Regions from separate parts of the Homo sapiens genome. Here region 2 is linked to region 1. Evidence: promoter capture Hi-C in 16 types of primary human blood cells and fetal thymus (Javierre and others, 2016). All regions are on one chromosome and are shown on one strand. Each heading gives the region's core, a stretch centred on a gene start or on the middle of the fragment in contact. The rest is flanking DNA. Distances are from core to core; before and after follow the strand shown. Region 1 holds the start of DHDDS (dehydrodolichyl diphosphate synthase subunit). Region 2 has its middle 11 kb from the start of PDIK1L.

Region 1 (4,736 bases), core at 1,985-4,484:
GAAGCAGGAGAATGGCTTGAACCCGGGAGGCAGAGGTTGCAGTGAGCCGAGATAGCACCACTGCACTCCAGCCTGGGTGACAGAGTAAGACTCTGTCTCAAAAAAAAAAAAAAAAAAAAAAAAAGGCACTAATTCCTGACCTCTAGCCAACTGCTGACACACAGGAACTGGGGCACAACATTGCTGGATCTGGTGATCTTGCAAGAAAACCAAACATCAGGATTTTTATTAAAATTTTGCTTTTCAGCCGGGCGCAGTGGCTCATGCCTGTAATCCCAGCACTTTGGGAGGCCGAGGCGGGTGGATCACGAGGTCAGGAGTTTAAGACCAGCCTGGCCAAAATGGTGAAACCCTGTCTCTACTAAAAATAAAGAAAAATTAGCCGGGCGTGGTGGCGAGCGCCTGTAATCCCAGCTACTCGGGAGGCTGAGGCAGGAGAATTGTTTGAACCGGGGAGGCAGAGGGTACAGTGAGCTGAGATTGTGCCACTGCACTCCAGCCTGGGCGACAGAGTGAGACTCTGTCTGAAAAAAAAAAATTGTTTTTCAAAGCAAACAAAAAAGACTTTTTTTGAGCCAAACAAAACTTACTTGGGGCCGGACGTGGTGGCTCAAGCCTGTAATCCCAGTACTTTAGGAGGCTGAGGTGGGCAGATCACTTGAGGCCAGGAGTTCGAGACCAGCCTGGCCAACATGGTGAAACCCCAACTCTACTAAAAAAAAAAAAAAAAAAAATTAGCCAGGCATGGTGGCCGGTGCCTATAATCCCAGCTACTTGGGGAGGCTGAGGTGGGAGAATCGCTTGAACCCAGGAGACAGAGGTTGCAGTAAGCCAAGACTGCACCACTGCACTCTAGCCTGGGCAACAGAGTAAGACTGCATCTCAAAAAAGAAACCACAAAAAACAAAACCCTTATTTGGCTTGGAGCAGCTTTGAGTTGTCTCCCATAACACAAATGGACTCCTTAGCCTATTTTTCCTCACCTGGGAGGGCTCTTCCCTGACTGCTTCCTCATCAACACTTCTCCTTTTTCTACTTCTGTCTCACATACAGCCTTTCCAGCCCCCAAAATCCATTCAAGTTATGCAGCTTGTTCTTCCAAACATACCACTGCAGTGGTTCCCCAAGGAGATACTTCCCATTTCCTGGACTGCTTGAGATCACTTGGCATTTGTTTGTGAGCATGTGTGGGGCTTGTATAAAGGTTACTGACTCATAAATTCATTACTACCTGCTGCTTGACAGCCTGTGGTTGAAAAACAAAACCAAGCTGACTGGCCCCAATCTCAAACCTGTCTTAGGCAGATATAATATTGCTGTGATTCCTAGAGAAAAAGCTGAGGGAAGATTTGGGGAAGATAGGAGATAATAGTCTTCAAATGTCTGAAAGACAATCCTAATAATAATTAAGAACTGCTAGACATTATGCTAACTGCTTTATATTAATGTCTCATAAATTCTCATGATAATTCTACAGTTGTTAAAGTCACATGATTACTAAATGATAGAACTGGACTTTCAGGCCAGGTGCAGTGGCTCAGTCCTATAATCCCAGCACTTTGGGAGGCTGAGATAGGTGGATCACCTGAGGTCAGGAGTTCGAGACCAGCCTGGCCAATATGAGAATCCCATCTCTACTAAAAATATAAAAATTAGCCATGTGTGGTAGCATATGCCTGTAACCCCAGCTACTTGGGAGGCTAAGGCAAGAGAATTGCTTGAACTTGGCAGATGAAGGTTGCAGTAAGCCAAGATTGCGCCATTGCACTCCAGCCTGGGCGACAGAGCGAGACTCCATCTCAAAATAAAAAAAAGAACAGGAATTTCACCCATGTTTGTCTGCGTCTAGAGCCCAAACTCTTTTTTTTTTTTTTTTTTTGAGACAGAGTCTTGTTCTGAACTCTTTTTTTTGAGACAGTCCCGTTCTGTCACCCAGGCTGGAGTGTGGTGGCACAATCATGACTCACTGCAGCTTTGACCTGGGCTCAAGAAATTCTCCCACTTCAGCCTTCCGAGTAGCTGGGACTACAGGTGCACACCACCAAGCCCTGCTATTTTTTTAATTTTTTGGAGAATCGGGGTTTTGCCATGTTGCCCAGGCTGGTCTCAACTCCTGAGCTCAAACAATCTGCCCACCTCAGCCTCCCAAATTGCTGGGATTACAGGCGTGAGTGACCGGGCCCAGCTCTACTGACAGATCAAAGAATATATCAAAGATTAACCTATTTAAATCAAGAAGACAGTACATGGAACAATGGATCAATGTTCCAGGGAAACAAATTTCAGTTCTCTATAAAGAATACTTAGCAGTCTAGGCTGCCCAGTGACATTAAGAGGCCTGGGCTTCCAGAAAATATCAGAGTTAGGACAAAAGTCTACCAGAAATGTAGACCTGGAAGTTACCATTCTAAGACTCTTTGGTTTCCTTGCTAAATTCCACTTAACATCATGAATTGCACTTAACATCATCAACTTTAATAACAGGTTTTTATATAAGATTATCCAACTGACCAGAAGGCCAACCGGTGCTCTGGGCCATTGCTCACCTTTATGATGTTGGCACAGAACCGCTCCCAAAGTGACAGCTCTCCTTCCTTGATCCATGACATAGTTCTTTTCCAGTCAGAAGATCACTCCAGAACAAGCAAACACCAGCCAGGTAATCTTGGATAAACAAGAAAGAAAATAAGAAGTCACCAAGGTTTGCGAAGAGCTATAACTGACTTCTGGGGAATCAGATGGACTATGGAGAGCAGCCAGCATTAGAATCCAAAGACACTGGTCTAAGCCTATAATCTTTTACCACCCAGAGTTTTATAACGCAATGTGACCTCTGGAGGCAAAAGCCTTTCCTCGGTTCTCCTGGCTTTGCAGACTTCTTCCCATTCCCATTTCCTCCGTATCTGCACTGACTTCTTCTGAACATCTAAGTCGGTTTCCTGCCACATCATGGTGCCCACATCTTGATCATTCCCCGTTTCTTCCTTCTCCATCTTCCCCTAAGCTGTTTCCAACTCTGTGCTCCCAGTTACTAACTCCTTCAGTTATCGCACGCCTAGTACTTCACGCCTCAGTGGTCTCCTGATTATTCCCTCAGTCGTCCCTTTGCTTCTCCCGCAGCTGCTCCCCGCCCAGTCACCCTCTTCTCCTCTAGTTCACCCCTTCAGTTCAGTGGCACCTGATTAGCTCCGCTGGGCGCGTCCCCACGGCTTCAGTGGGCCGGCACTTCCTCATGACGTGGCGCTGGCAGAACACGTCATCTTTGGGCGCTGCGACACGCCCCTTCCGTCACCCAAACTGAGGGGACCCTGCCCTGCGCCTGCGCCTGCGAGCTAGTGGGAGGGCGGTTCTCAGTCCCGCGGGGTGTGGAAGCCGGCGCGGGTGAGAGCCAGGCTCACGTGACCGAGCGGGGCGGGAGGCTGGGCTCCAGGCCACGTGCTGGGAGACCAGCTGGGGAAGACAGGGTTGAGCCCAGCGTTGGGAGCGGAGGCGTCTGGAAAACGCGCCAGGGAAATGAGCCAGGGGCAAGAATCGAGGCGCTTCTCGGCCGTCGAAGGCAGCTTAGGACTGCTGAGAGACTGGGTAAGGCAGCGTCCTTACCTTGGAATGCCGCAGAACCGGGCTTCATTAGAGCACTGGTGCATACTCTTAAAAATTATCTCGTTACCGTTTCGTATTTTATTTAGTGGATTTAATCGTCTGGGAAGGAGTTTCTAGCCGCAGCCAATCTTACAGACGCGCAGAATATTAATCTATTTTGTGCCGACTTAAGGCACGCATATTTTAGGATTTGTGGATTCCCAAGACCTATCCCAACGAACTCAAGAGAAGGGGTAAGGCCAGAAAGATTTCTGCCATAAGAATGACTTCTAGGCCAGGCGCGGTGGCTCACGCCTGTAATCCCAGCACTTTGGGAGGCCGAGGCGAACGGATCACCTGAGGTCAGGAGTTTGAGACCAGCCTGACCAACATCGTGAAACCCCGTCTGTACTAAAAATACAGAAAATGAGCCGGGCGTGGTGGCGGGCGCCTGTTATCCCAGTTACTCGGGAGGGTGAGGCAAGAGAATCGCTTGAACCCGGGAGGCGGAGGTTGCGGTGAGCCAAGATCAGGCCACTGCACTCCAGCCTGGGCAACAGGAGCGAAACTCTGTCTGAAAAAAGAAAAAAAAAAAAAGCATGACTTCTAAAATAACAGAAAGGTGCTCGCTTTGGCAGTACATAAATGAAAATAACAGAAATTAACCCTGGTAGAAAAGTTAAGGGCATTAGCTCTACTGAACCTTTACGAAAAAAAGGGTTGCAAGAATTCTAGGCTCACAAAACAAATTTGTAGTTCAATTTTCTCAAAATTGAAAGAGGAGGAAAAAATTCTTTACAGATTCTTATACAACCAGTATTATTTTTATTTATTTATTTATTTATTTATTTATTTAGAGACGGAGTCTGGCTATGTCGCCCAGGCTGGAGTGCAGTGGCGCGATCTCGGCTCACTGCAGCCTCCGCCTCCCGGGTTCAAGCGTTTCTCCTGCTTCATCCTCCTGAGTAGCTGGGACTACAGGCGCGTGCCACCAAGCCTGGCTAATTTTTGTATTTTTAGTAGAGACAGGGTTTCACCATTTTGGCCAGGATGGTTTTGATCTCTTGACCTCGTTATCTGCCTGCCTAGACCTTCCAAAGTGCTGGAATTACAGGCGTGAGCCACCGCGCCCGGCCACAACCAGTATTTCTTGCAAA
Region 2 (4,936 bases), core at 1,295-3,794, 330 kb after region 1:
TCTGTTGCCTAGGCTCGAGTGCAATGGCACAATCTTGGCTCACTGCAACCTCTGCCTCCTGGGTTCAAGCGATTCTCCTGCCTGAGCCTCCTGCGTAGCTAGGATCATAGGCATGCGCCACCATGCCTGGCTAATTTTTGTATTTTTGATAGAGATGGGGTTTTGCCATATTGGCCAGGCTGGTCTCGAACTCCTGACCTCAGGTGATCCACCCACCTCGGCCTCCCAAAGTGTTGGGATTATAGGCGTGAGCCACTGTGCCCAGCCACCCCAGCCCCATTTCTGCAGGGGGAGGCTGAGGGAGAAACTCCTTTAGGAAGGGTATTAGCTTTGGCACTAACACGCTGTGTCATCTTGAGCAAGAAAGACTCCCCCCTGCTGTGGGCCTCAGTCTCCCCATCTGCAAAATGAGGGGGTCTGACCAGCTCATCTCTAAGGATCCTTATAGCTCCAACACTCTGATTCTTGAATCCTACACCTCCACTATGCTTGTAATAAGAAGATCAAAATGTTTATTTCTGATCCAGCCCCTGAGACAAGTGATCTGGGGGCCCACAAAGGTCTTGCACCAGGTATAACATTAGCTGTTTTTGTCTTTGGATGGGTCCTAGTTGTCTTCTTGGTGAGGACTGAGAACAGCTGGAGCAGCTGATGGTTAAGACCCAGGTTCACATCTCCTGCCCCTGGGTCCAAGAGCTGCTGGGGATGCCACCATCTGAAAACCATGCTGGATGGGGGTGTTGGGAGTGTCCCAAACTGAGGATTCACCCGACTCCTCAGCAGGTCCTGAAGTGTTAAAGCTTCGGCTTCCTCTGATTCTCTGGCCTCTTCTGGATGCTTCATGTTGCAAGAGCAGAAACTCAACTCAAAGTGACTGAAAGGAATGATTGGTACATTTACCTAAGAGAAATGGAGGTGGGAGGGCTAGCTTCGGGAAGGAAGTTTGATTCAGCAGCTCACATGTCACCAAAGACTCTAGTTTCCTCTGTTCTGCCTCCCATGATGCTGCCTTCATCTTAAGGCTGGCTTCCCTTGTGGGCCTCGGGGTCACCAGTGGGAATTCAGCCTTATGAGATCATATCCTGCAGGAATGAGAAAGTCAACTTCTCTATTCCTCAAACAACATTCCTGAAATTAAGTCTTGTTGGACCTGATTGGCTAGGGGCTAGGGAGTAGGGGGTAAGAGATAGGGTTGTGGGCCCCTCCTTGACCAAGCTCTGTGTCCTGAAGGATGGGGCTTACTGGCAGGCTTAAATTCAGAGGCTGGTGGGTGGCTAACAAATGTCTTGACATATACCCCTCTCTTCAGAAGTCAACTAGTGCCTGGCACATGGTGGCACTTTGTTCGTTAAGTCAACAGCTATTTGGTGAATATCCACCACGTGCAAGAAATTGTGCTTGATGCTGAGAAAAAGCAGTGAACAGAAAGATAAGGTCCCTGCCCTCATGGACTTTCTCTGGGAGGGGAGACAGACATATAAATATGCAGACAGTACAATTCAACCAGTGCCAGCTGAGGTTACATAGCCCAGGGGAGGAAATCCAAACTGTGCTTCTGTGGAGGGGAATGGCGGGCAGGAAAGCTTTAGAGAGGAGGTAGCATTTACACTGGGCCTTAAATTTAGCCATTCCACAATGTATTCATATTTCAAAGCATCATGTTGTACATATGAGTAAATAAATACAATTTTTGTCAATTTAAAAAATAAATAGAAATTTGAGGGTCAGAGTGAGACACTCCTTTAAGCTGACATTCTTCAAATATTTGCTCTATGGTTATTTAGAGCAGGGGCTGGGAAGGAGGCACAGATAACCACACTTAGCCTCTCGATGGTCCTGACCTCCTGGACCCTGGACAAACCTGTAGACTCCACAAGGCCCGCTAATTCATGTAGCTGCGAATATTACTTAGGCTGGCCCCTGACCTCCCAGCCCCAAGCCTTATCCACATTTGTCTTCCAACAGTATACAGAACTCTCCTGGAGAGGAGTGCTAGTGAATGGAATATTCTGCAATGTGTATGGGAGCCAAAGTGCCAGGCACCGTGCTAGGCACTGGGGATGTGGCCATGAAGGAAACATACGGCATACACAATGTGTCTTCGTCTGTTCATGCTGCTATAACAAAATACCTTAGACTGGGTAATTTATAAACAACAGAAATTTACTTCCCCCAGTCCTAGAAGCTGGGAAGACCAAGATCAAGGTGCCAGTAGATTCCATCTCTGGTGAGAGCTGCTGTCTCTGCTTCCAAGATGGTGGCTTGGTGCTGCATCCTCACAAGGCAGAAGTGGAAGGGCAAAAAGGGATGAATAGCTCCCTTGCACCCCTTTTATCTTTTTTTTTTTTTTTTTTTGAGACGGATTCGTGCTCTGTTGCCAAGCTAGAGTGCAGTGGCACAATCTCGGCTCACTGCAACCTCCGCCTCCCAGGTTCAAGTGATTCTCCTGCCTCTGCCTCCTGAGTAGCTGGGACTACATGCACGTGCCACCACACCTGGCTAATTTTTTTTTTTTTTTTTTTTTTTTAGTAGAGACGGAGTTTCACCATGTTGGCCAGGATGGTCTCAATCTATTGACCTCGTGATCTGCCTGCCTTGGCCTCACAAAGTGCTGGGATTACAGGCATGAGCCACCGTGCCCGGCCCCTTGCACGCTTTTTATAAGGTCACTAATCCTACCCATGATGGCTCCACCCTCATGACTTAATCACATACTAAAGGTCCTACCTCTTATCACACTAGCAATTCAGTTTTAACATGAATTTTAGGGGGACACATGGAGACCATAGCGCAGTGCCTGTTCTCATGAAACTTGCCTTCTTATTTACACCCACAATGATCATGGAAAGAGACACATAAATACAGTTCTGGAAAGCGCTATGCAGGAGAAGCTCTAGGGCGCATGAGACTTATTAGGAGGCAGGGAGGAGGGAGGTAGTATGGGCCACGGAAAGCCTCTGAGCATATGACAGAGGCCTTTTTTTTTTTTCTTTTTTTTTTTTGGAGACAGTCCCACTCCGTTCCTCAGGCTGGAGTGCAATAGTGCGATCCCAGCTCACTGTAACCTCTGCCTCCCGGGTCAAGTGATTCTCCTGCCTCAGCCTCACAGACAGCTTGGGACTACAGGCACACACCACCACTCCTGGCTAATTTTTTGTATTTTTAGTAGAGACGGGGTTTCGCCATGTTGGCCAGGCTGGTCTTGAACTCCTGGCCTCGAACTCCTGGCCTCAAGTGATCTGCCCGCCTCAGCCTCCCAAAGTGCTGAGATTACAGGCGTGAGGCAATGCACCCAGCCACATGTGACACTTATGCTAAGAAATGACCGAGGGGCAGAAATGAGCTAAGTGAGAAGCGGAGGGAGGAGCATGCTTGGCATTCAGGACGGCCGGTACCAGCTGCTCTATGCAGGCCTCAGCTGGAAGTTTAAATCAAGAGCTGGGGGGAAACGATGGGGAGAGGAAGATACTAGGAAGCTCCATTGTGGGTATAAATACAAGCTTTTGCTTCCAAAGCCCAACTTTATCAGTAATAAGGCCCATATTTTTATCTCTCCATTGCCTTGATTGCCATTGGGATTTCCTAATAGGTCCAGATCCCAACTGGAGGGGGAATAAGTTGTAAGGTTTAGCCTTAAAACCCCTACACAAGCAGGGGTGATATCCTGTAGGGTCTTGTAGATCATGTTATGGATTTGGGCATAAAAGCAACAGGTCAGCAAGGGTCTATTTTTTTTTTAATTGTGGTAAAATAGAGGTAACATAAAATTTGCTGATTTAATCATTTTAACTGTATAGTTCAACGGCATTAAGTACATTTATATTGTTGTGCAACCATCACCACCATCCAGAACTTTTATTTTTATTATTATTGTTTGAGATGAAGTCTTGTTCTGTCTCCCAGGCTGGAGGGCAATGGTGTGATCTCAGCTCACTGCAACCCCCACCTGCCGGTTCACACAATCTTCCCGCCTCAGCCTCCCAAGTAGCTGGGACTATAGGCATGTGCCACCATGTCTGGCTAATTTTTGTATTTTTAGTAGAGACAAGGTCTCACCATGTTGGCCAGGCTGGTCTCGAACTCCTGACCTCAAGTGATCCACCTGCCTCAGCCTCCCAGAATGCTGGGATTACAGGTGTGAACCATCCAGCCCGGACATTCGGGGTTTTTTTATCATCCCAAACTGCAACTCTGTATCCATTAAACAATAACTCTCCATTCCTTCTCTTCCCAGCCCCTGGTAACTGGATAACCACTATTTTACTTTTTTTTTTTTAAGACAGAGTTTCACTCTTTTCTCCCAGGCTGGAGTGCAATGGCGCAATCTCAGCTCACTGCAACCTCCACCTCCCAGGTTCAAGCGACTCTCCTGCCTCAGCCTCCCAAGTAGCTGGGATTATATGTGCCTGCCACCACACCTGGCTAATTTTTTGTATTTTTTGTAGAGATGGGGTTTCACCATGTTGGCCAGGCTGGTCTCGAACTCCTGACCTCAGGTAGATCTGCTAGCCTCGGCCTCCCATAGTGCTGGGATTACAGACATGAGCCACCGCACCCAGCCTCTACTTTCTGTCTCTATAATTTGACTATTCTAGGTACCTCATATGAATAGAATAATTCAGTATTTATTTTTTTGTGTCTGGCTTATTTCACTTAGTGTAAGGTCTCCAAGTTTCACCCATGTTGTAGCATGTGTCAGAATTTCATTCCTCTTTAAGGCTGAACAATATTCCGTTTTGTGTATATACTATATTTTGTTCATCTGTCAACCTGTCAATCACCAAAGAGTTTTAAGTAAAGATTTTATTTATTTTATTTTTATTTTTTTTTGAGGTAGGGTCTTGCTCTTTGCCCAGGCTGTAGTACAGTGACACGATCGCAGTCCACTGCAGCCTTGACTTCCTGGGCTCAAGCGATCCTCCCATCTCAGCTTCCC

What was found. Contacts are between HindIII fragments. The CHiCAGO score rates a contact against its expected background, and 5 or more counts as called.
Region 2: a fragment that was not itself captured here is called in contact with the fragment with the promoter of DHDDS in region 1 in 2 of 17 cell types (naive B cells and M2 macrophages); the score reaches 8.2 in naive B cells.

Annotation. Positions count from the first base shown.
Region 1 is chr1:26,430,819-26,435,554 of GRCh38, reverse strand. It overlaps DHDDS (dehydrodolichyl diphosphate synthase subunit), which reads right to left and starts at 3,234. Exons shown (of 9, transcript NM_205861.3): 1 at 3,179-3,234; 2 at 2,547-2,664. The coding sequence starts at 2,609. It overlaps LOC124903883 (a long non-coding RNA gene), which reads left to right and starts at 3,318. Exons shown (of 2, transcript XR_007065557.1): 1 at 3,318-3,582; 2 at 4,437-4,736. RefSeq lists enhancers at 2,915-3,404, 2,942-3,478, 3,505-3,564, 3,635-3,694, 3,479-4,015. The HindIII fragment of the contact is 8,751 bases long and covers 1-4,736 here.
Region 2 is chr1:26,098,814-26,103,749 of GRCh38, reverse strand. No RefSeq gene overlaps it. Among named protein-coding and RNA genes, the nearest start is that of PDIK1L, 11 kb to the left of the region's middle. The HindIII fragment of the contact is 1,917 bases long and covers 1,586-3,502 here.